7 separate regions of the Homo sapiens genome follow, and regions 1, 2, 3, 4, 5 and 7 are each linked to region 6. Evidence: promoter capture Hi-C in 16 types of primary human blood cells and fetal thymus (Javierre and others, 2016). All regions are on one chromosome and are shown on one strand. Each heading gives the region's core, a stretch centred on a gene start or on the middle of the fragment in contact. The rest is flanking DNA. Distances are from core to core; before and after follow the strand shown.

Region 1 (3,490 bases), core at 233-2,732, 250 kb after region 6:
CAGATCAAGCCATTCAATCGTGAAGGGAAACAAAAATGTAAAACTGGCTTTTGATTTTTTTTTTTTAATCTTACTTTAGCCAGGCACAGTGGCACACACCTGTAATCCCAGCACTTTGGGAGGCCAAGGTGAGTGGATCACCTGAGGTCAGGAGTTTGAGACCAGACTGACCAACATGGTGAAACCTTGTCTCTACTAAAAATACAAAAATTAACCAGGTGTGGTGGCGGGCCCCTGTAATCCCAGCTACTCAGGAGGCTGAGGCAGAAGATCCACTTGAACCTGGGAGATGAAGTTTGCACTGAACAGAGATCACACCACTGCACTCCAGCCTGAGCAACAGAGCGAGACTCCACCTCAAAAAAAAAAAAAAAAAAATCTTACTTTATTAGAAAGTATAGGCCAGCCGTGGTGGCTCACGCTTGTAATCCCAGCACTTTGGAAGGCTAAGGTGGGTGGATCACCTGAGGTCAGGAATTCGAGACCAGCCTGCCAACATGGTGAAACCCCATCTCTACTAAAAATACAAAAATTACCTGGGTGTAGTGGCGCATGCCTGTAGTCCCAGCTACTCAGGAGGCTGAGGCAAGAGAATCGCTTGAACCTGGGAGGTGGAGGTTGCAGTGAGCTGAGATCATGCCACTGCACTCCAGACTGGGCAACAGAGCAAGACTCTCTTTCCAGAAAAAAAAAAGAAAAAAAAGGGAAGAGTAAATAATATAACAAGCATGTCATACCCACAACCCAGTGGAGGTAACAAAATATCACAGGCCGGGCGCAGTGGCTCATACCTGTAATCCCAGCACTTTGGGAGGCCAAGGTGGGTGGATCATTTGAGCCCTGGGGTTTGAGACCACCCTGGGCAACATGGTGAAACCTCATCTTTACTAAAGATACAAAAGTCAGCCGGGCCTGGTGGCGTGTGCCTGTAGTCCCAGCTACTCAGGAGGCTGAGGTGGGAGGATCACCTGAGCCCAGGGAGTCTGAGGCTACAGTGAGCCAAGACTGCCCCACTGCATTTCATCCTAGGCAACAAAGCAATACCCCACCTCAAAAAATAAAGTAAAATAAAATAAAACATCATAAACACCGGTGAGTCTTGCCCTCCTCAGCTAACCACAACCCTGACTTTAACATTTATCATTCCTACAAGCTTCTACTTACTATGTATTTCCGTGTCCCTAAATAATACATAATGCCATCTCACAGGTTTTAAAACTTTACACAGATGGTCTCTGAGGCCCTACAGCCACTGGCAAGCTGCCTTCCATCCCTGCTGTCTGTACCTGCAACGCCTGGAGCATCCCTTGAGTTCAGCTCTCATTCTTTCCTTCCGACTGCCCTGCAGCAGCCTCTGACCACCACGGCTCACTGAGCCATTCTCTTGTTGGAGGAAGGCAGTGTCTTGCTACCATGGACAGGACTCTTGTGCACCCCTTTGTACCTATCGCCTGCTAGGCTTGTGTGGGTTTTTCTCAGGTGTACACATAGGAGGGCAATTGCCAGTAGAAGGCATTGTCTTCATTAATGTTTCCACCATCTCAGAAAACCAAGGTTTGCCCCTGTATACAGTATGTAAAATTGTAACTTTCACACTCACTGCCTCATCAACAATCTTATCATAAAAACACAAGATGTTTCCTGTATTTTTATGTGACCTGTATTTCTAACTTGTTAGCATGTTGAAGAAGTTGTCTTCTCTCCACACAAGGCACAGAATCTTGAAGGTAACAAACAGCTAAAAACCACATCTAGGTGGCCACTGTGCCCCTCAGAAACATGAATGGCGAGACATGTTCCTGTGAAGCTTTGATTACATGGGAGCAGCCTCAGCCACACCCACCCGAAGAGAGGAAAGGCCCAACAGAAGCTGTGCGGGGCAGGGCACCTACCCTGAACGTAATGAAAATTTCCCTTTTTCCCACAGGCATCCTCACGGTCTGGCCATCCTCGACTCCTACAAGGGACATTAGAAAGGGAGAAGTTAGGCAGGACGCGGTGGCTCACGCCTGTAATCCCAGCACTTTGGGAGGCCGAGGCGGGCAGATCATGACGTCAAGAGATCGAGACCATCCTGGCCAACATGGTGAAACCTGGTCTCTACTAAAAATTAACTGGGCGTGGTGGCACACGCCTGTAGTCCCAGCTACTCAGGAGGCTGAGGAAAGAGAATCGCTTGAACCCAGGAGGCGGAGGTTGCAGTGAGCCGAGATCACTCCACTACACGCCAGCCTGGCAACAGAGCGAGACTCCGTCTTAAAAAAAAAAAAAAAAAGAAAAGAAAAAGAAAAAAAAGAAAGGGAGCAGTTATTGTGAGACCTCCCACAGCACTTTCCACCCAAGATCCACTTGTAACCCACAGCTTCTTCCCCACTCCTGTTTCTTATTAACGAGGAACAATGTCATTATCTAAGAGGCACATGGGTAACCTTCCAGAGATGCAACACAGACACCTGATGACTGAGCACCTGCCTCAGGCTTGGTCTAGGCAGTACCTCAGGGAGTTCATGGTCTCACTGGGGTGATGGGTGTTAACCAAACGATAGCACTAATGCATAACTACAAACAGAGACATGCTCTTCAATGGAAATGCTCACAACTCTAGAGAAACAGACATCTAAACAACAGTAAAGCAGGCCACGCGCGGTGGCTCATGACTATAATCTCAGCACTTTGGGAAGCCGAGGCGGGTGGATCACGAGGTCAGGAGATCGAGACCATCCTGGCTAACACGATGAAACCCCGTCTCTACTAAAAATACAAAAAATTAGCTGGGTGTGGTGGCAGGTGCCTGTAGTCCCAGCTCCTTGGGAGGCTGAGGCAGGAGAATGGCATGAGCCTGGGAGGCAGAGCTTGCAGTGGGCCGAGATCGGGCCACTGCGCTCCAGCCTGGGTGACAGAGCGAGACTCCGTCTCAAAAAAGAAAAAAAAAAGAACAGGGAGGAGGGTGTGAGGCTAGCTAGGGAAGGGATACTCAAGCTGGGATCTCCAAGATGAATAAAGTTAACCGAAAAAAGAAAGCAGAAAGTGAGTTTTGGGCAAGGGAACAGTAGACATGGAGTGAGGGGTGGGATCCGTGGGGCTGATGTAGATAGGGTGGCAGCAGGGACAATGATGGCTTCGGTGACTAAGACAGGGGAGAGAGGAGAGGAGCCCGGGGGTTGGAAGCTGCTCCCTCACCAGGAAGAAGCAGAGTAGGCACGTCAGGTCTCTTCTCCCCATTGTGACATGCAAAGTGTAAATTTTAAGGATAACTGGCAGAAACAGAAAGATTCAAGGAGACTCCAGTTCCTCCTCCAGCCTGGGGCTCCAGGGCCTCAACCATAACTTCTACCAAGAGCCCACTCACACTCAGTGCAGTGGCCTCGGCCCTGTCCACCCTCTCCACACGGTGTGGTAGCCTCAACCCTGTCTGCCCTCTCCAAGCTCCTGGACATGGCGGGCCCAAGCACCCACCTGCAGGCACAGGGATCATCACTCGCTTTTTCTG
Region 2 (3,392 bases), core at 384-2,883, 190 kb after region 6:
TTACCATCACCCTGGATGGGGGTCCCCTGCCTGCTTCCTAGAAGGCTGTTTGCAGCTCAGAGCTCACTCCGATATAAAATTGCCACCATATTAATATGAGGTGATTACGCTTCAGCTTCCACAACTGACTGTCATCCTGTCTTCCCAGTTAAACCAAAAGCTTCCTACAAGAGAGATCCAGATTCCCTCAGATTCAGATCAGGGTCCAATATGACTTATAGGCCAGCACCCTGGGGAGCATCCAACCTGAGTTACAGCTGTTGCAAATACACAGATGGAGTTCCTACTGAGAAAGCCAGTTAAATAGAGGATTTGTGTGCCTGTGCCTGTGTGTGTAACAAGAAAATAACAGCTAAATTCTAAAATACCAAGTAAAGTAATACAAATTTTTAATTGGGTCCCATGTCTCTAAATTAACTGTATGAAATCTGTTTTGACTTCTCTTCAGATCTGACTTGACTCCTAAGTTTTTAACTGACAATTATATTTATGGGGTACAGTGTGATGTTTGGACACATGTATACATTGGGGAATAATTAAATCAGGGTTATTAACATATCCATCAGCTCACATGCTTATCATTTCTTTGTGGTGACAACTTTTAAAATCCACTCTTTTACCAATTTTGAAGTATACAATACTATTATAATATTAACCATATTAACTATAGTCACCATGCTGTAAGGCAGATCATCAGACCTTATTTCTCCTAACTGAAATTTTGTACCCTTTGATCAACATCTCCCCTTTCCACACCCACCCTTCCCTTCCCCCAGCCGCTGGTAACCAACATGTTACACTCTCCTTCTATAACTGACTTTTTCAGATTTCACATATAAGTGATATCATGCACCATTTGTCTTTCTTTCTTTGGCTTACTTCACTTAGCATAATGTCCTCTAGATGCATCCATGTAGTCACAAATGACAGAATTTCCTTCTTGTTTATGGTTGAGTAGTATTCCATCGTGCATAAATACCAGCTTTTAAAAATCCATTAATCCACTGTGTGCTGCGAAGACTAAGTGGGCTAACACGCATGAATGTTTGACAAAATGCAGCACCACCTCAAATATTGAGCTCTTACTGAGGAAGTCGCTGGTGAGAATGAGCAATTGGGTGATTGTTAAACACTGAGGAAGAACAAGAAATCCAGCAATTTCAGATAGTTCTGGGCAGGTCACACCTGAGGACTTCTGACTCAGACCTCATTCTCCAGCAGCGTCAGGAAATAGGAATATCTGCCCTTTCTAAGGTGAGCCACGTGAGCACTGGAGGCTAGAATACCCACATTGCAGATGCCACTGGAGATTGGCTGAGCCACATGTTTGGGGCAGCAGACAGAGCTCAATCAGTTCTAATCCAACAAGGCACGAGATAACAGAGACTTCTCAACACCCTGAAGAAGCCACATCATCTAGAACTACAGCTTCTGAGTTTATAGAATAAATGGCCTGAGGTCTCCTCTGAACTCTGGTACTACCATTCCTCAGGAAATGTTATACATAAGCCCTTTCATTTCAATCGCTGGGGGAATTCAATCCCACGGTTCACTGAACGGAAGAATAAATATTAACCTCTTGATAAAAGAGCAAATCCAGGCTGGGTGCAGTGGCTCACACCTATAATCCTGACACTTTGGGAGGCCAAGGTGGGAGGATCACCTAAGCCTAGGAGCTCAAGACTAGCCTGGGCAACACAGTCAGACCTTGTCTCTACGAAAAATAAAATAATTAGCCAGGCGTGGTGACACACACCTGTAGTCCCAACCACTCGGGAAACTGGGGCAAGAGGATCTTTTGACCCCAGGAGTTCAAGGATGCAGTGAACTATGATCACACCGTTGCACTCCAGCCTGGCAAGGGAGTGAGATGCAAAAAAAAAAAAAGAGCAAGTTAAGACTGAATCCAGCCGGGTGTGGTGGCTCATGTCTGTAATCCCAGCACTTTGGGAGGCCGAGCGGGTAGATCACCTGAGGTCAGGCATTCAAGACCAGCCTGGCCAACATGGCAAAACCCCATCTCTACTAAAAATATAAAAAAATTAGCCAGGTGTGGTGGTGTGTGACTCTAATCCCAAATACTTGGGAGGCTGAGGCACGAGAATTTCTGGAACCTAGGAGGTGGAGGTTGCAGTGAGCCGACAGTGCCACTGCGCTCCAGCCTGCACAACAGAGCAAGACTGTGTCTCAAAAAAAAAAAAAAAAAAAAAAAGACAATGAATCCTGGAAAAGTGGGGACTCTGGGGACACAAAGCACTTGAGTCAGATTACTAAATAAGCACTTGCGCATTTGGGCAAGAAGGCAGGCAAAAGCAAAACAACTGCAAACTAATTTAAAGGCATTAACCTCTTAAGTAACCTCAAAAACTGACAAGAGACCGGTTGTGGTAGCTCAAGCCTGTAATCTCTGCACTTTGGAACTCTGAGGCAGAAGGATCACTTGTGGCCAGGAGTTCAACACCATCCTGGGCAACAAAGTGAGACCCCCTCCATCTCAAAAAATACATTGAATAAAAAAGACAACTGAATAGCAGTTCAAGAAGTCCAAGACTTTTCTTGCAGGCTTTTTTACTGGAGAAGAGAAGTGTGCTCATCTCTAGCCATGTTCAAATACAACTGAGCAAGCAGTGAAGACAGACACCAAGGACAGAACCTGAGACACTGAAATGAGTTCAAAGAAGGGGCCTGGAATCGACTATTGTTGGGACAATGATGAGTCCTGGTAGAGCCTTCCTATTATAACTGAAATAAGCACAAGACTCGCCCCTGTTCCCTGATTGCCACCTCGCTTTATATGAGGACAATGTGTCCCAGGGCTGAGAAGATGAGGATTCTTTAGTTCCATAAGCAGCACCAGGAGCGGGAGGGGTGAAGTCCTGAGTGAATTCTAAAATGGTTCTGGTGGGATTTTTACAGGGACAGAGGCTAGACTTCATGCATCCCACAGGGCTGGCTTTAACTAATGAAACCTTGGGTCATCCCTAGGTTACCATCAAGCAAAAATTATTCCAACACTGAACAACCTTGAAAGCAGGTGTCGTGTGGATAAGTGGAGTCAGTCATGTTTCCTTTCATACAGGCACAAAAATTGTCACCTGTAAGCTTCAGCTTCTATCATAAACAAGGACTGTGAATAGCATTTGGGGGTGGAGGGAAAAAAAGTAGGTGATTAAGATGCATATGCAGAACTGTCATTTTGGGAAACCTGAGAGTGCCATCAGCTCCCAGGTGCTTTCCTCTCTATAAACAGCCTGAAGCCTTAGAAGCCATTCCTGGAGGCTGGTACTGGTAGCTCACACCTATAATCTCTGTACTTTGGGAGGCCGAGGCTGAAGGATCACTTGAGTCCAGGAGTTTGAGACCAGCCTAGGAAACATAGTGAGACCCCCCGT
Region 3 (3,620 bases), core at 465-2,964, 220 kb before region 6:
TCTCATTGCCCAGGCTGGAATGCAGTGGCGAAATCTCGGCTCACTGCAGCCTCAACCCCCTGGGCTCAAGTAATCCTCCTACCTCAGCCTCCCGAGTATCCAGGACTACAGGTGTGCATCACCATGCCCAGCTAATTTTTTGTATTTTCAGTAGACATGGGGTTTCACCATGTTGCCCGGGCTGCTCTCAAACTCCTGGTCTCAAGCGATCTGCCCACCTCGGCCTCCCAAAGTGCTGGGATTATAGGTGCGAGCCACCACGCCCAGCCCAGTGGATATTAATATAGTCACAGAGTTGTACAGCCATCCCCACGATTGATTTTAGAACATTTTTATCACCCCAAAAAGAAATCTGATACCCCTTAGCAATCACTGTCCATTTTACATCCTCCTGGGCCATGGCAACCACTCATCCACTTTCTGCTCCTGTAGATTTCTGCATTCTGGACGTTTCTTATCAATGGAATAATATGTGAGCTTTTGTGTCTGGCTTCTCTCACTGAGCATAACATTCTCGAGGTTCCTGAGGCTGTAGCAGCTGTCAGTCCTGCCTTCATTCTTTGGCCGAATAATAGAGATAGACCACGTTTGGTTTATATTTTCATCAGTTGATGAATATTTGAGTTGTTTCCACTAAAAAGTGGAGGCCAAAAGGCTATTATGAATCATGCTGCTGTGATTCATCTATGTACAAGTTTCTGTGCAGGCATAGATTTTTTTGTTTTTTTGTTTTTGTTTTTTTGTTTTTTATTTTCTGAGATGGAGTCTTGCTCCATCACCCAGGCTGGAGTGCAGTGGCGCCATCTCAGCTCATTGCAACCTCCGCCTCCCAGGTTCAAGCGATTCTCTTGTCTCAGCTTCCCGAATAGATGGGATTACAGGCACATACCACCACGCCCAGCTAATTTTTTTGTACTTTTAGTAGAGATGGGGTTTCACCATGTTGGCCAGGCTGGTCTCGAACTCCTGACCTCAGGTGATCCACCTGCCTCGGCCTCCCAAAGTGCTGGGATTGCAGGCGTGAGTCACCGCATCCAGCCCAGACATAGGTTTTCATTTCTCTTGGATAGATATGTAGGGGTGGGCTGGGTGCAGTGGCTCACGCCTGTAATCCTAATATTTTGGGAGGCCGAGGCAGATAGATTGCTTGAGCCCAGGGGTTCAAGACCAGCTGGGGCAACATGGCGAAACCTCCCTCTCTGAAAAAAAAAAAAAATTAGCTGGGCACGGTGCCAGGCGCCTGTAGTCGCAGTTACTCGGAGGCTGAGGTACAAAGATTGCTTGAGACTGGGAGGTCAAGGCTGCAGTGAGCTAAGATTGCACCACTGCAGTCCAGCCTGGGCAACAGAGTGAGACCCTGTCTCAAAAAATAATAAGGCTGGGCGCAATGGCTCACACCTGTAATCCCAGCACTTTGGGAGGCCAAGGCAAGTGCATCACCTGAGGTCAGGAGTTCGAGACCAGCCTGGCCAACATGGCAAAACCCCGTCTCTACTAAAAGTACAAAAGTTAGCCGGGTGTGGTGGCACACACCTGTAATCCTAGCTACTCGGGAGGCTGAGGTAGGAGAATCATTTGAGTCTGGGAAGCGGAGGCTGAGTGAGCCGAGATCATGCCAGTGCACTCCAGCCTGGGCAACAGGGTGAGACCCTGTCTCAAAAAAATAAATAAGTAATAAAAATAAAAAAAATACGTAGGGGTGGACTTGCTGGGTCTTATGGTGACTGCTTAACTTTTTGTGGAATTTCTAGACTGTTTTCCACAACTGTACACCATTTTGCATCCCCACTAGCAAGGCACGAGGGTTCCAATTTCTCCACATTTTTGCCAACACTTGTTATTGTCTTTTTTATTATAGCCATTGTAGTGGATGAAAAGTGGCATCCCGGTGTGGTTTTGGGCTCTTGGCATTTTAAATTAATCTGTGAAGTACCTACTGTGTGCTGGGAGCCCTGTAAGATCGTCACATGGAATTGTTAAGGGCCTAGAGTCCTGGCTCTGCCATCTAATTGCTGGGTGACTTTGGGAGAGTTATTTAACCTCTCTGATCCTCAGTTTCCACACCCATAAACGGGGATAATAATACAATTACCTACCATGCTAACACCCAGCTCTCAGGGTTGTCATGAAGATTGAGTCAGAAACAGTGAGGAGCCTGGCACGTAGAGAGTAAGTATTAGCTCATATTACGATGGTGGAGATTGTTATTGGTGTGATTTTCCTAGCATCCCCATGAGTAACTTCTAGCCCAGTCGATCACATGCCTCTGGAGTGAGATTGCTTGCGGGGAGAATCGCGGTTCACCAGCTGTGTGACCCTGAGCAAGTGCTTTGATGTCTCAGAGTCTTGGTTTCTTCATCCCCTTCTTCAAAGGGGCACACCAACCTCCCCGGGGACTTAGGGCAAGGATGATATTGAGCTGGTGCCTGTGAATATGTCTGAGGTCTGGCAAAGCCCACAGCAAGTGGCAAATGCCCAGGATGCCTTTGTGGTCATCGCCAGAGGACAGATGGAGAAGCGGAGGCTGTACGAGGGTAGGGCACTTGCCTGAGGCTGTCTAAGCAGCAAGCAGCCCAGTGGGCCTTGGGCCTGGCCTGTCTGCTCATAGCTTCCTGCTACCGCTCACAGCTTTGTCCCATCAGGAGTCCAAGGTCCCTGAGGCAGTGGTCATTGCCCCACAACTCCCATGTCCTCTGGGGGGCTTCGGCTGGAACAACAGGCCCAGCCAGGATAGAGTCCAGAAGGTGGCTTTTCTTGCATCTGCCACAATCCATGAAAGGGCTGGTTTGGGAGCTGGCCCTGTGCCTGAGGTGGGACTGGGCCCAAGAGAGACAAAGGCCCCCACTTGAGCCACAGTACAGACCCTAACGATGCACTGCAGAGTCAGGGGTTAAATATTTGGGGTGAGACTCACCGCCTCTAGGTGCAGCTGGCCTGGCAGATGGTCAGTGACTGGGGTGGGAGTGTGGGGGCCCAGAAACTCACATTCTCCATGTGGCCTGCCCAACCAGGAAGTGGGGGGTTAGGGAATGAGGGAGGAGTCGGGTGGACCCCTGACCTGGCTGTTCTAGAAGCCCACCTTATCCCTTCTTACCGAGATCCTCCATCCAAAGCCCCCCACTGCTAAGCCTTCCTGGCCACCCCGCCAAACACTGGCTTTCTCCACTGCAGGACTTGTCAGTGCCTTTGCTGGCTCATGAACATATCAAGGATGGGGTTTTCCTAAGTGCCTTGACCAAGGAAGAATAAGACTTGTAAGAGTTGGGTTCCTGGGACCCCACTTTGGGACAGGCTGCCCCCAGTTGACCTTGCAGAAGGTATGGCTTGGGTCCTGTTCCCTCAAGATCCCCCAGCTCCGGTGTATCCAGGTCTGCCACAAAGCTGGCCCTTAAGCAAGGTGTGGAACCTAGACGGATGGATCCCCAGCATGTTGGCTGCTGCCATTTCTGCCCCCAATGCCCCCAACATCAACAGCACCTGCATTGCTGGTCCATGACTCCGGTAGGTGTCCAGGTACCCTGGGGAACCTGCAAAAATAGTAATAATAATACAGCTTCCTGGGCCCAGCTCTGGAGACCTGGGTTCAGCAGGTCTGGGTTAGTGGCCGGGAATCTGAATTT
Region 4 (3,174 bases), core at 92-2,591, 230 kb after region 6:
GGAGGGTGTGTCCAGGGCTGCCCACACCTCTGGGCAGTACATCTAAATTCATTCGTTCATCGTCAACGTTTATTTTCTGCTGTTCCAGGAGCTAACTGGCCACAGAGTGAAATTTCTGGCTTAGATGTTTTGACCAAATAGAGAGAAAAGCTTCCAGGAGGAGAGGGCCATAGGAGCCAAGGCAAGGAGGGGTGAAAATGCAGGCCCTGCCGGGCTCCTCTGTGGGAGGGAATTTGAAGAGAAAAGAGTCTGGAAAGATAGACCCGACCCCTCCCCTGTGGGAGGGGATTTAAAGGGAAAGAGGCTAGAAAGATAGGGCCGACCCCTGCCCCCATTGGCCTGGCTGGGTGGGCAGGAGGCCTACTGGACAGACTCTTGGGTACCTGGTTTCTAATGTTTGTCATTACCATTAGGAAAGTAAGACATACTCATTAAAGAATCTGGGAGGCTGGGTGCAGTAGCTCACGCCTGTAATCCCAGCACTTTGGGAGGCCGAGGCAGGTGGATCACCTGAGGTCAGGAGTTTGAGACCAGCCTGGCCAACAGGGTGAAACCCCATCTCTACTAAAAATAAACAAATTAGCCGGGTGTGGTGGCAGGCGCCTGTAATCCCAGCTACTTGGGAGGCTGAGGCAAGAGAATCGCTTGAACTCAGGAGGCAGAGTTTGCAGCGAGCCGAGATGCCACTGCACTCCAGACTGGGCGACAGAGCGAGACTCCAACTCCAAAAAAAAAAAAGAATCTGGGAAACACTGGAGTCCTTAAAAGACGAAAGTTGGGTCAGGCGCGGTAGCTCACACCTGTAATCCTAGCACTTTGGGAGGCTGAGGCGGGCAATTACAAGGTCAGGAAATCGAGACCATCCTGACTAACACGGTGAAACCCCGTCTCTACTAAAAATACAAAAAATTAGCCCGGCGTGGTGGGCCTAACTCCTGGGCTCAAGCGATCCTCCCACCTCCACCTCCCAAAGTGCTGGGATGACAGGTGTGAGCCACTGTGTCTGGTCAAGCTTTGGTTTTTGAGAAAGAAAGTGATGCAGGCAGGTCTCTGATTTGGAAGGGACTGAGATATTTTCGTCTCATGATCTGAAAATAATAGTCTTTTTATTTATTCATTTTTGAGACAGGGTCTCACTCTTGTTGCCCAGGCTGGAGTACAGTGGGGTGATCTCAGCTCACTGCAACCTCCACCTCCTGGTTTCAAGCGATTCTCCTGTCTCAGCCTCCTAAGTAGCTGGGATTACACGCACCTACCACCAGGCTGGCTAATTTTTGTATTTTTGAAAGAGACGGGGTTTTATCGTGTTGGCCACGCTGGTCTCGAACTCCTGGCCTCAAGAGATTTGCCTGCCTCAGCCTCCCAAAGTGCAGGGATTACGGGCATGAGCCACAGCATCTGGCCAAGAACAATCTTTAAACTGATCTACAATGTCAGGCAGCTCAGGAGAGCAGCAGTTTCTGAACTTTCGGCTCTTAGAAGTTTTCAAATGACCTTGTACGGAGGACCTGGGTCAGGGACCGAGACAATAGTGGCTCTGGGTGTAGCAGGTCGGGAGACCCCAGCCCATCCGGCCTCCCTGCCCCGCCACCTCCCGGGGCACTGGAGGACGCCGGCCACGACAGGCTCCTCTGCTTCCAGATGACTCCTGAGGACTACGAAAAGCTTGGCTTTCCCGGTGCCCGGGACCTGGCCAACATGTTCCGTTTCTATGCCCTGAGACCCGACCGTGACATCGAGCTGACCCTGAGACTCAACCCCAAGGCCCTGACGCTGGACCAGTGGCTGGAACAGCACAAAGGGGACTTCAACCTGCTGTGACCTGCCCGCCTCGCGGCCCCTTGTGGGGATCGGGGGCACCAGAGGGGCAGAGGCACCAACATCTGAATAAAGCCATTGTTCTCCCAGATGGCTTCCAGGAGAAGAGGACTCTGCTTCCAGGACTTGGGTTGGGGTGGTAGTTGTGTACCAACACAACAGTAAGTGGTTGGGGAGGGTCCGGGGCTGTACCAACACAGCAGTAAGTTGGAGCGGGGGGGGGGGGTCCAGGGCTGTACCAACACAGCAGTAAGTGAGGGGACCCGGGGTTGTACCAACACAGCAGTAAGGGGTGGCTCCAGGGCTGTACCAACACAGCAGTAAGGGAGGGTCCAAGGCTGAAGGGATCACTTGGTGACTGGGACGAGTGACCTAAACGTGTTTAGTCAGACAGGTGTGAAGTGGCCTGTTCTGACCTCAGCTAGCAGAACAGCTCTGACCAGCAGCCTCTGTTCCCACATTTGAAATTCATTCACAGACGGGGACATAGCACAGGACACAGAGGAGCCCCAGGAGCCGAGCTTCTGACACACCCCTTTCATCTCCAGAGCTAGTGAGGCCATCTGCACATGTGAACTGGAGACAGGCTCTGCAGGGAGGCGGGGGAGATATGGGCTTCTCCCTTTCTCTCCTCATCCTTGTCCTGGAAGGAGCCGGCCTTGGGGTACCATCCTGGACACAGGTGAACTTCAAACAGGTTGGAAAAAGGAAAATCGGATGTGGCAGAGCTGTGGTCCACAACGCACAGTAATTGGACACTGCTGGGAAGCAAAACTGAAGGAGAAACAACCCACCTTGCTTGCTGGGGTGGGTCACAGAGAAGAGGGTCAGAGGCCGAGAGACCAGTTATTTGCCTGAGAGTTTGTGGTCCATGGCAGCTCCGATTTTTTTTTTTTTTTTTTTTTTTGAGACGGAGTCTCCCTCTGTCACCCAGGCTGGGGTGCAGTGGCACGATCCCAGCTCACTGCAGCCTCCACCTCCTGGGTTCAAGTGATTCTCCTGCCTCAGCCTCCCGAGTAGCTGGGATTACAAGCATGCACCATCACGTCCAGCTAATTTTTGTATTTTTAGTAGAGACGGGGTTTCACCATATTGTCCAGGATGGTCTCGATCTCTTGACCTCGTGATCCGCCCGCCTCGGCCTTCCAAAGTGTTGGGATTACAGGCATAAGCCACCGCGCCTGGCCAATTTTTTTTTTTTTTTTTTTTTTTTTTAAAGAGTCAAGGTCTCGCTCTGTTGCCCAGGCTGGAGTGCAGTGGCACAGTCATAGCTCACTGCAGCCTTCACCTCCCAGGCTTAAGTGATCCTTCCACCTCAACCTCCTGAGTAGCTGGGATTATCGTACAGGTATGAGC
Region 5 (3,156 bases), core at 173-2,672, 240 kb before region 6:
GTGGACACCTGTGGATCCAGCTACTCGGGAAGCTGAGGTGGGAGGATTGCTTGAGCCCCAAAAGTCAAGGCTGCAGTGAGCTATGATTGTGCCAATGCACTCCAGCCTGGGCAACTGAGTCTCAAAGAAGAAAGAAGAAAGAAAGCAAGAAAGCAAGAAAGGAAAGAGAGAGGAAGGAAAGAAGGAAGGCAGGCAGGCAGGCACAACTTTAGGAGGAATCACACCTCTATTTACGCCTAGTGGTCCATTATTGGAACGTGACGCCTGTGGGAGTTATCTCCTACTGCTCAAGGTCACTGCCAAGGTATGATTTATCAATTCAAAAAATTGCAACCTCAGGCATAAATGGGTTAAGCCCACCCATAGAAGCCCCATTAAGAATAAGGTTGGCTGGGCACGGTGGCTAATATCTGTAATCCCAGCACTTTGGGAGGCTGTAGGCCGGCAGATCACTTGAGCACAGGAGTTCAAGACCAGCCTGGGCAACATGGTGAAACTCTGCCTCTACAAAAATTTTTAAAAATTAGCCAGGTGTGGTGGTGTGTGCCATCCGGGCTTCAGGTCAGATTAGGTTTCTGTCTAAGGGCAGCCTCCTCCACTGGCACACAGTCTGGGCCAGGACATGCTGGCAGAATTGTGCAACGTCGTTGTTCTGAGCCGCAATCGAGCAGCTTTTATGACCAGCTATGAAGCGCTCTTCTAGTGCCAGGGCCTGGAGTTATTGAAGTTTCAAAGGAGTTTTTGTCCACCCGAGATGGCAAGCGGAGAGCAGATTCAGGCCAGGGCACTGCGCTCAGCGCTTTGCGTGCATTACCTGCAGGGACATCCCCACAGGCCTTTCGGATGGGGTGGTGGTTATCACCGTTTGACAAAGAAGTAAACTGTGGCTGGGAGCAGTAAAACACCTTGCCCAGGAGTGTCAGCCAACCTGGGGGTGGCAGGGCTTGAACTCAGGCCGGCGCCCTCGGCAGTTCAGCCCCCTTCCCTCAATTGCCACCATCTGAGTGCAATTCGCTAGCTACTAGGGCACATGAATCCGTGCGGGTCTCTGCCGCACCTGTCTTGCGGGGCCCAGCTGGGTGTCCGCCAAAGCACCAGGAGCGCCGAGTTCCGCGGTAGCGCAGAACCAGGTGAAGGCCTCGGCCAGAGGCGCGCCGGGCCCGAGGAGGGTGGGGCTGCGAGCGCTCGCCCCGGCGGCCTTTGCGCCCCAGTGCCTGCCCGGCCTCCGGAGTCCCCCGGCTGGGGGTGGGCGGCGTCCGGCCAAGACCCAGTGTCCCCACCCCCGCGTCCAAGCCCCGCCCGCGCGGTGGCCCCTCCTCGGGAAGGTAAGCACCACCTTCTCGGGGAGCGGCCCGCAGAGCCAGTGGCCGGCGGGCGCCCCGCCCCCAGCGAGTAGGGACCCGGAGCCACTGCCGCGCCGCAGTCCGGGCTCCCCGCGCCGCCGCTCGCTCACCTGCGCTCCCGCCCGCCCCTCGGTGCGCGCCCGGCCCGCCAGCCGCCGCCGCCCGCACCCCGAGCGCCACCATGAACTCGCTCTTCAGGAAGAGAAACAAAGGCAAATACAGCCCCACTGTGCAGACCCGGAGGTGAGGAGGCGCCCACAGCTCCGCTCCGGGACGCTCTTGCCCCTGTGGGCGCACAGGACCTGGAAGACCTCCCGGGCAGTGTAGGAATGGGGGGTACGGGGGTCCAGGAACCGGGAACTGAACCCGGAGTGCGGGACTCTCGGGAACGCGGGACCGAGGCCACCCTGAAGCTGGGAAGCGCCGCCAGGTGGGAAGGGACTGGCTGGGGTCCCCGAGGGGGAGCATAACACAGGGGACTCCGGGAGCCCAGGGAGCATTGCCTTGAGGGCCTAGGGCACGGGCAGCTGAGCTGGGGGTACAGGGCACCCCCGTGTCCCAGGGTCGCTCTTGCGCAGAGGGTCGCACAGGACCGGGAATAGTCACCTGGATGAGGGGGCGGAGTTTTTGGAGGACCGGGCACTCAAGGCGGGGTCGCTGCGGGCGACCCAGGAAGCTCCGTCCAGGGGGCGCCCTGAGGCAGGGAAACTGAGCTGGCGTCGGGGGGCGCTCTCCAGCGCCTCTGAGACCGCGCAAGTGTTCCTGGCGTCGGGGAGGCGAGGGATGGGTGTCCGGAGGGGGCGGGCCACCCGCCGCTGCACTTCCCGGCACCTGCCACCCTGCGCGCCAGAGCCGCGCCCGGAGGCCCTGGGGGGTGTGGGGTCGGGTCGAGGGGCACAGGGGGAGGCACCCCCTTACCTCCCCACCCTCTGGGTTCTGAGCGGAGGTTGGGCGGCTTCGGGGCCTCCTCTTCGAAGCTCGGTTTCGCAGGGGTGTGGCTCCCTGCCCCCACCCCAGCCCCGAAACTGGCGGCGTCTCTGAGCCGCGGGTTCCCAGGGCGGCCTGGGAGGGGAATGGCATGTCTTGATGTGTTTGCAGGGAGAAGCAGCCCACGTCCCTTTTGATAAGCCTAATGTGTTCACTTAATAACCGGTTTAGGGGAGCCTGGTGGAGATGCTGAGATTGACGGAGGGGGTGGGAATCCAGCCCCTGCCTTATATCCCCACTTCGGAAAATAGAGTGGGGGCTCTGGGCTAGCAAGGACCATTTTGCCAGCTTCTCGGACAAGAGGCTTCAGGCAGGTGAGGGGCCCGCACATTACATGGCTCTCCTGTCTGGGAGTTCTGCCCCCAAGCTGCTCTCACTGGGAGCCCCCACTGTGCCCTCAAGCAGCTCCTCACTTCTTCCCTAGGCAAGGAGAGGCCTCTGGGCCCAGGGCTCCCACTCAACCCCTGCAGTCCGGCCTAGGCCGACCAGTCGGACAGGTGCAGGCGGCGGGGCCCTAGCACGCTGGAGTGCGACACTCCATTCCGGGGCCTTCCAGCCCTTTCAGAAACCCCCCTGCCCTGTGATCCCACCCACCCGTATCTCCGTTTGGGCTCTTTCAAGCTCAGAGGCATTACCCGCCTTTAGAGATTTCCCCACCCCTCCCCTATCTTTCACAACCCCAGAGACTGGGCAGGGCCTGCACACCCCTCCTCCATGGCTGCGTCCAGCTGGCACTCAGACCCAACCAGAGGCCCGTCCAGTCCCTGCACTGTTCCCTGGGGCATTGCACAATTGGATGCTCCGTGCCAGCCGTGGAGAACCGTTC
Region 6 (3,439 bases), core at 873-3,372:
AGTAAATCCAACAACAACCCAAATTAACAGTATTATTAACTTCCTACCCCAAGCTGGCTCTCCCCCAGGCCCTGAACTGGCTCAGGAAGGAGGCAGGAATGAGCTGACCGAGACAAGGCATCCTCCACCCACACATCCCATCTTCTGAGTGGTCCCAGAGCTGTGCGCCACCCCTGTGGGACAATCAGGCACTCCTGGGTCTCTACCAGCTGTGATGAGACGTACAAGAGGAGGGTCTGAGCCCAGAATAAACAAGAGCATCCTGAGGCTGGAGAGGCAGGCCCAGTGTGCCCGGACCACCCTGCTCTGCCTGAGAGGATGGGCTGGGTTCCAGCTGGCCCGGCCGCCACCTAGTGACTGCTTGGGACAGTGGAGATGATGACAGGATGCCCACTCGCCCTAGGCAGTCAGAAGCGGGGTACACACAAACACTCTAGAAGCCACACTTAGCAGGAATTCCCAGTCTTCCGGCCCAGGGGAGGGTGCCACCAGCTCAGGCAGCCCTCAAGAGGAGGCCGGGAGCAACTTCTCCAGGGCCTTCTTCTGCTTCTCGGTGGCTGCAGCCAGGGCCTCAACCAGCTTCTCCTCGGGCATCATGTTGAGCACCTTGAGGGCAAAGAGGAGCTGGCACTTAGCCGTGCTCACGAAGGCGTTGCTCAGGAAGTTGGGGAAGCCTCCGACTCGGTCCTTCTGGGTGTACAGCGGGACCCGCACGAGGCCCAGCACCTGCGCAGACAGGAGGTAGGGGTTGGGGCCAGGCCTGCCACACAATGGCACCTCCAGCAGGAGGGGCCTGGAAGCTATGAGGCCAGGGTATGAGCAGCCAGCTTTGCCAAGGACTTAATGGGAGACCCACGCAGGGCCTGGCAGAAGCCAGCCAGCTCCCTCGGAGCAGTGCAGCCCCCTCCTCCCCAAGCAAGTGTGGAGGCTGACCCCATGCACTCCCCCCCCTCGTACCCAGGCCACCCCACCCCGGGGTCCGCACCCCATGCTCCCCCCGTCCACCCAACGAAGCCTGAACACCCGCAGTCCAGCCCTTCCAGACCACAAAGTACAAATCCCAAGAGCCTTCACGCCCAACATGAGGTTCCCAAGTTTTACAACCCCCGCTGTGCTCAAGTTTCCCAACTCCCCAAGCAATCCCCGCTCCTCCCCCATCCCTTCCTCCCCACCGATCCCACTCCCCCACTCCCAGGATTGGCAATGGCAGGCAGCAAGGCGGATGTAACACAGCCCTGAGGGAGCCCCAGCGCCGGCCCCCACCCCCGCCCCTCCTTTCCCGGCCTCCCAGCCCCAGACCCCTCTCCCCACCCCATTGCTGGAGACAGCGACACCCGACCCAGCCCGGCCAGGGGACCCTCAGGAGACGTGTTACCCATCGGTGCCTTCCACGGGGCCAGAGCCAAACCCCGGGGCGGGGGGCGGGGCCCGGGCGGCGGCCCCACCTCCAGGCCGTGGTCGCGCGAGTGCACCGCGCTGATCTCCACGGCGTGCAGCTGCTCCAGCGTCAGCTGCCGCGCGTACAGGTGCGCCACGACGCGGTGTGGGCCCTCGGTCAGGTGCGAGCTCAGGTAGTCGGCCTCGGTGAGGCGCAGGCAGCCCAGGCCCAGGCCCAGCACCCGGTTCAGGCCGTCCTCCAGCGACCAGAAGCGCCGGTCCACGAAGCCCCCGGGGAAGCCCAGCAGCCCGTCGAAACGCATCTGCATCTGCAAGGGAGCGCGGGTCACAGCCGCGGGGTCGACGGACGCCCCCGCCCGGGCCCGCCCGCGCCGGCACCCTCGCCCGCGCCCTCGCCCGTCCTCACCAGCACCGAGAAGCGCATGGGGATGCGGCCGAAGAGCTGCCCAGGGTTGGCGGCGTACAGCATGGCGTGGCACGAGTGGCTCCAGCCCGGCCCTAGGCGCATCGCCTCCACCCGGCTGATCTGCTTCAGCTCCGGAACCGCCGCCGTCGACATCTTGGCACTGACCCCGTCCCCGCCGCTGCCACTTAAGAGCATGCGCGAGCCCGCCCCCGCCGTGCCTCGCCAATCCGCGGGCGGCCGCGCCCCCGGGTCCGGTTCCCCCGCCAATCGCCGGCGCGCCCCGGGACCGAGCCCCTCGCAGCGCCGCGGTGCGTCGTCGAGAGGTGCTGCGGGCGGTGTGCAAAGGAGGGCGGTGCGCGTCAGCCGTCACCCAATAGTCGCACACCCTGGGCGGCGGCCCCGCCTCCGACGGGAGAGCCTAGACGACTGGTCGGTGCCGTGGTGGCTCAAGGTTGACATTGTGGGCGACGAACATCTTCCTTGGCGCCCCAAAGCGGACAGCCGAAATTCCCTGCGGTTTCTCCACCCTCGATGGCGCCGATCCCCTTGCGCCCACCCGTTTCTCCCCAGGAGGCCGACCCGGCCCGCATGGCCCCGTCCATCCGCAATGGCACCCTTGGCACGACCACACGAGCCAGAGATGCCCCGGAGCCTTGCTCCGCCAGCGCCACCGGACCCAAGCCCGGAGGGAGATGGCCTTCGCCTGCCATGCACGACAGCTGTCCCGACCTAGCCACCCTGCTGGCAGGCTCGATCCAGGACAGCACGGGGAGCAGGGCTTGGCAGGGCTTGAGTGCCCCAGTCCCCGAGTCCACGCTGGGTCAGGGCGGACGACCGGGAGCTCTGGGGCTCTGTGGACCCAGCTTGCTGGGCAGAAAGTGACTTAAATTCCGGGGCTGGACCTTTCCAGCATCCTCCAAGCCGGGCACCCTGTGCCAGGTACTGTGGGGGGAAGAGGGGTTTCCCCAATTTACGATGAGGAACTTGGAGCTCAGAGAGGGACATAACTTGCCTAAGTACAACTGGCAGTTGATGACAGAGGCAGAATCCCGATTCCACAAGGGCCTGAGGTACTTACCACTTACCTTGTGTTTGTACTGGAGATGTCTCTGGGGCTCAGAAGCATCCGAAACAGCCCAAGGCAGAGCGAGGTGCCCTGAACTCCATGATGGCAAGGCTCACCTCACCAGCAGCAGGGCCCAGGGCCACTTTCCTCCCCACCAGGGGAATGGATTTGCTGAGCACATGAACCCCCCTGCCTGCACTCACAGCATGGGTGCCCAGGGCTGGGGCACAGCCTCGGGAGAGCCGTGCAGTGAGGCCGAGCTCGCTGGCACAGAGAAGGCTGCCTTCAGTGGAGGCAGGCAGGAGAAGAGAGAGGGAGAGGGTGGGCATTGGAAACTCACCTGTTAGGTCCGTGGTGGCCTCAGATGTGGAGAATAAGGACCCAGAGAGGGCACCTCTCTCTCCTCCTGTGGCCACCAGTGGGTCAGGGGTCACATGGGACAGCTGCAAGCAGCAGGGGAAGTCCAGATTCCAGAGTGAGCGACCATGTGAGAAGGCGAGAGGGCAGCGAGGGGAAGGGTCCTCTCACCCAAAGAGGGCCCCACCCCTAGGCAGCCAAGCCCAGCCAGC
Region 7 (3,518 bases), core at 280-2,779, 210 kb after region 6:
CGAAGGCCTGACTTTCCCTCTGCCTTCCTACATAAAAAGAAGAGAGTAAAGGTTTAATGTCTTCTAGGTAGAAGTTAGATGACCACCCAGGCCACACTTCACCAAGTTTGCTTTTTCATCTGCCGTCAAACACTACTATCCACACTCAGCTTTGCTCATTTATTCCTTCCCTTCTCCCTCCTGCCCTCCTCCAGACTGCCACAGAGATAGTTCAAGGTGACAATGGCTCCTCTGCAGCAGCACATAGCAGTCTTGCCAGACACAACAGCAGATCAAGTAACTACTGAAGATGATGGCTACACTTGGACAGGTGACATTACATTATCATCAACAAACATTTATCACCCTCTTGAGTACTGTGACTACAAAGAAAGATAAGATCTTGCTCTGCACGTCAAGTACCTTTCAATCTAGAGAGAGAGTTAGGTGGAAAAATAAAAAGATAACATAAGGTGTACCATTCTATAAATATTAATTGTGCAATACAGACAACTGTGCTAAAGATAGAGCTTTATGTACCCGACTTTCCAGAACAATTCTGATTTCAAATACCCTGTTCCACCCAATTCTTTCAGTACACCTGTATGCTCAATGACAGGTGTTTCGCATAAAAATTATGATCATCACAGCTACTTATGAGGCCAGCCAGTCAACTAGATTAACTAAAATCAGGATGGCATTATAATGCCAGATTGTTTTATTTTTTTCTTTTTTTTTTTTTTTTTGAGACGGAGTCTCGCTCTGTCTCCCAGGCTGGAGCGCAGTGGCGCGATCTCTGCTTACTGCAAGCTCCGCCTCCCGGGTTCCCGCCATTCTCCTGCCTCAGCCTCCCGAGTAGCCGGGACTACAGGCGCCCGCCACCATGCCCGGCTAATTTTTTTTGTATTTTTTAGTAGAGACGGGGTTTCACCGTGTTAGCCAGCATGGTCTCGATCTCCTGACCTCGTGATCCGCCCGCCTCCGCCTCCCAAAGTGCTGGGATTACAGGTGCGAGCCACCGCGCCCGGACCAGATTGTTTTAATCACACTAGTACCTTCTTGCAGCCTCAGCACAGTGCTTTAATAGTAGGCCCTCTATCTCAGACATGAAAACATGAGCAAAAGCAAAAATACGAGGCCTGGCCGGGCGCGGTGGCTCACGCCTGTAATCCCAATGCTTTGGGAGGCCGAGGTAGGTGGATCACCTGACATCAGAAGTTTGAGACCAGCCTGACTAACATGGTGAAACCCCGTCTCTACTAAAAATACAAAAAATTAGCCAGGCGTGGTGGCAGACGCCTATAATCCCAGCTTCTCCAGAGGCTGAGGCAGGAGAATCGCTTAAACCTGGGAGGTGGAAGTTGCAGTGAACCAAGGTCACACCACTGCACTCCAGCCTGGGTGACAAGAGTGAAACTCTGTCTCAAAAAAAAAAAAAAAAAATAGTAGGCCCTTAGCCGGGCACGGTCGCTCCACCTCTAATTCTAATTGGGAGGCCAAAGTGGGTGGACCACTTGAGGTCAGGAGTTTGAGACCAGCCTGGCCAGCATGGTGAAACCCCGTCTCTACTAAAAATACAAAAATTAACTGGGTGTGGTGGCACACACCTGTAATCCCAGCTACTAGGGAGGCTGAGGAAGGAGAATCACTTGAACCCAGGAGGCAGAGGTTGCAGTGAGCCGAGACGGCGCCACTGCACTCCAGCCCTGGTGACAGAGCAAGACTCTAAGGAAAAAAAAAAAAAAAAGGCCGGGTGCTGTGGCTCACGCCTGTAATACTAGCACTTTGGGAGGCCAAGGAGGGTGGTTCGCTTGAGGTCAGGAGCTGGAGACCAGCGTGGCCAACATGGCGAAACCCCATCTCTACCAAAAGTACAAAAATTAGCCAGGCATGGTGGTGCATGCCTGTAGTCCCAGTTACTTGGAAGGCTGAGGCAGGAGAACTGCTTGAACCCCAGAGGCAGAGATTGCAGTGAGCTCAGATCAGATCACTGTACTCCAGCCTGGGTGAAAGAGCCAGACTCTGTTTCAAAAAAATAAAAAATAAAAAATAAAAAAGCCGGGCGCAGCGACTCATGCCTATAACCCCAGCACTTTGGGAGGCCAAGGTGGACGGATCACCTGAGGTCAGGAGTAGGAGACCAGCCCGGCCAACATAGTGAAACCTCATCTCTACTAAAAATACAAAAATTAGCCAGGCATGGTGGCATACGCCTGTAATCCCAGCTACTCAGGAGACTGAGGCTGGAGAATCGCTTGAACCCAGGAGGCGGAGGTTGCAGTGAGCTGAGATTGTGCCACCACACTCCAGCCTGGGTGACAGAGCAAGACTGTCTCAAAAAAAAAAAAAAAAAAAAAAAAAAAAAAAATAGAATAAGAAAAAGGCAGGCTGGGTACAAGATACTAGTCTGTTATGCCATTCTTCCCCACAGCCTTTTTAAAGTTACTGAGAACTATGACAGTAATTAGGCCTATAATACTCCTGGGAAGGAAACGAATCTATCTGTGAAACAAAAATTAATTTTTTCCCTAAGCTGAGTGAAGAGAATATCCACTTTGTTGGCTTCTGACATACACACTGACAGCACAGTTCACCAGACAACAATCACTCTTCTGGCGTCCCTTTCCCCAGGTATTCTATTCGCTTACTGCTCTATCTTCCCTGCCAGTCCACTCCCTCCTCTTTCCAGCCTGTGCCTTAGACAAGGACCCCAAACAAGGATCACCTGGGAAACTCCAAAAAACAGATTCCTAGTCATAATCCCAATTTTACCAAAAAAGAAGCGTTTGGAAACCCCTTAGATCGACAAGCAGCATCCAAAGACACCAAAAACTTAGGCTCATCAAGTATTAACTTCCTGCCTCAGCCTCCCAAGTAGCTGAGATTACAGGTATGTGCTAGCATCCTACTTATTGTTCACTCTGATAGAATTTTTTTTTCTTTGAGATGAAGTTTTGCTCTTGTCGCCCAGGCTGGAGTGCAATGGCATGATCTTGGCTCACTGAAACCTCTGCCTCCCAGGTTCAAGCAATTCTCCTTGCTCAGCCTCCCGAGTAGCTGGGATTACAGGCTACTTTTTGCAAGGCTAATTTTTGTATTTTTAGTAGAGACGGGGTTTCACAATGTTAGCCAGGCTGGTCTCGAACTCCTGACCTCAGGTGATCCACCCGCCTTGGTCTCCCAAAGTGCTGGGATTACAGGCGTGAGCCACCGCACCCAGTCTAGGTCAAGTTTTTCATCTCTTTCCTTTCCAAGGAGTTAAAGCTGAATTTCAAATTTTACAGTGAAATACACAATTCTAATTTTCTTTCTTTCTTTTTTTTTTTTTTGAGATGCAGTTTTGCTCCTGTTGCCCAGGCTGGAATGCAGTGGCACAATCTTGGCTCATCGCAACCTCTGCCTCCCAGGTTCAAGTGATTCTCCTGCCTCGGCCTCCCAAGTAGCTCGGATTACAGGCACACACCACCATGCCCAGCTAATTTTTGTATTATTATTATTTTTTTCTTAGTAGAGATGGGGTTTTTCCATGTTGGTCAGGC

The links. The method cuts DNA at HindIII sites, captures the fragments that hold promoters and counts their contacts. A CHiCAGO score of 5 or more calls a contact.
Region 1: a fragment that was not itself captured here is called in contact with the fragment with the promoter of NUDT16L1 in region 6 in 3 of 17 cell types (monocytes, neutrophils and M1 macrophages); the score reaches 6.7 in monocytes.
Region 2: a fragment that was not itself captured here is called in contact with the fragment with the promoter of NUDT16L1 in region 6 in 3 of 17 cell types (neutrophils, erythroblasts and M1 macrophages); the score reaches 6.1 in neutrophils.
Region 3: a contact is called between a fragment that was not itself captured here and the fragment with the promoter of NUDT16L1 in region 6, in 1 of 17 cell types (erythroblasts). The highest score is 7.6, in erythroblasts.
Region 4: a fragment that was not itself captured here is called in contact with the fragment with the promoter of NUDT16L1 in region 6 in 1 of 17 cell types (neutrophils); the score reaches 5.0 in neutrophils.
Region 5: a contact is called between the fragment with the promoter of PPL here and the fragment with the promoter of NUDT16L1 in region 6, in 5 of 17 cell types (megakaryocytes, M1 macrophages, M2 macrophages and 2 more). The highest score is 7.6, in megakaryocytes.
Region 7: a contact is called between a fragment that was not itself captured here and the fragment with the promoter of NUDT16L1 in region 6, in 7 of 17 cell types (neutrophils, M2 macrophages, erythroblasts and 4 more). The highest score is 7.4, in neutrophils.

The regions. Positions count from the first base shown.
Region 1 is chr16:4,443,131-4,446,620 of GRCh38, reverse strand. DNAJA3 (DnaJ heat shock protein family (Hsp40) member A3) reads right to left here. Exons shown (of 12, transcript NM_005147.6): 6 at 3,457-3,490; 7 at 1,893-1,957. Among named protein-coding and RNA genes, the nearest start is that of DNAJA3, 19 kb to the right of the region's middle. The HindIII fragment of the contact is 654 bases long and covers 1,156-1,809 here.
Region 2 is chr16:4,496,882-4,500,273 of GRCh38, reverse strand. All of the region lies in intron 1 of HMOX2 (heme oxygenase 2), which reads right to left. Among named protein-coding and RNA genes, the nearest start is that of HMOX2, 22 kb to the right of the region's middle. The HindIII fragment of the contact is 2,942 bases long and covers 163-3,104 here.
Region 3 is chr16:4,914,268-4,917,887 of GRCh38, reverse strand. All of the region lies in intron 1 of PPL (periplakin), which reads left to right. It overlaps LOC105371064 (a long non-coding RNA gene), which reads right to left and starts at 2,825. Exons shown (of 4, transcript XR_933028.3): 1 at 2,097-2,825. LOC124903637 (a long non-coding RNA gene) reads right to left here. Exons shown (of 3, transcript XR_007064965.1): 3 at 3,440-3,527. The HindIII fragment of the contact is 7,303 bases long and covers 1-3,620 here.
Region 4 is chr16:4,460,427-4,463,600 of GRCh38, reverse strand. NMRAL1 (NmrA like redox sensor 1) reads left to right here. Exons shown (of 6, transcript NM_020677.6): 6 at 1,642-1,907. The coding sequence ends at 1,821. Among named protein-coding and RNA genes, the nearest start is that of NMRAL1, 13 kb to the left of the region's middle. The HindIII fragment of the contact is 653 bases long and covers 1,015-1,667 here.
Region 5 is chr16:4,935,414-4,938,569 of GRCh38, reverse strand. PPL (periplakin) reads left to right here and starts at 1,422. Exons shown (of 22, transcript NM_002705.5): 1 at 1,422-1,586. The coding sequence starts at 1,525. RefSeq lists a silencer at 1,080-1,479. The HindIII fragment of the contact is 7,029 bases long and covers 1-3,156 here.
Region 6 is chr16:4,692,245-4,695,683 of GRCh38, reverse strand. It overlaps NUDT16L1 (nudix hydrolase 16 like 1), which reads right to left and starts at 2,122. Exons shown (of 3, transcript NM_032349.4): 1 at 1,805-2,122; 2 at 1,446-1,706; 3 at 1-726. The coding sequence starts at 1,957. The coding sequence ends at 505. RefSeq lists enhancers at 92-592, 1,195-1,702, 1,703-2,210, 2,462-2,551 and silencers at 1,302-1,801, 1,912-2,271. The HindIII fragment of the contact is 13,448 bases long and covers 1-3,439 here.
Region 7 is chr16:4,478,556-4,482,073 of GRCh38, reverse strand. All of the region lies in intron 1 of HMOX2 (heme oxygenase 2), which reads right to left. LOC124903636 (a long non-coding RNA gene) reads left to right here. Exons shown (of 3, transcript XR_007064964.1): 2 at 195-310; 3 at 2,513-2,810. Among named protein-coding and RNA genes, the nearest start is that of HMOX2, 3.9 kb to the right of the region's middle. The HindIII fragment of the contact is 5,105 bases long and covers 1-3,518 here.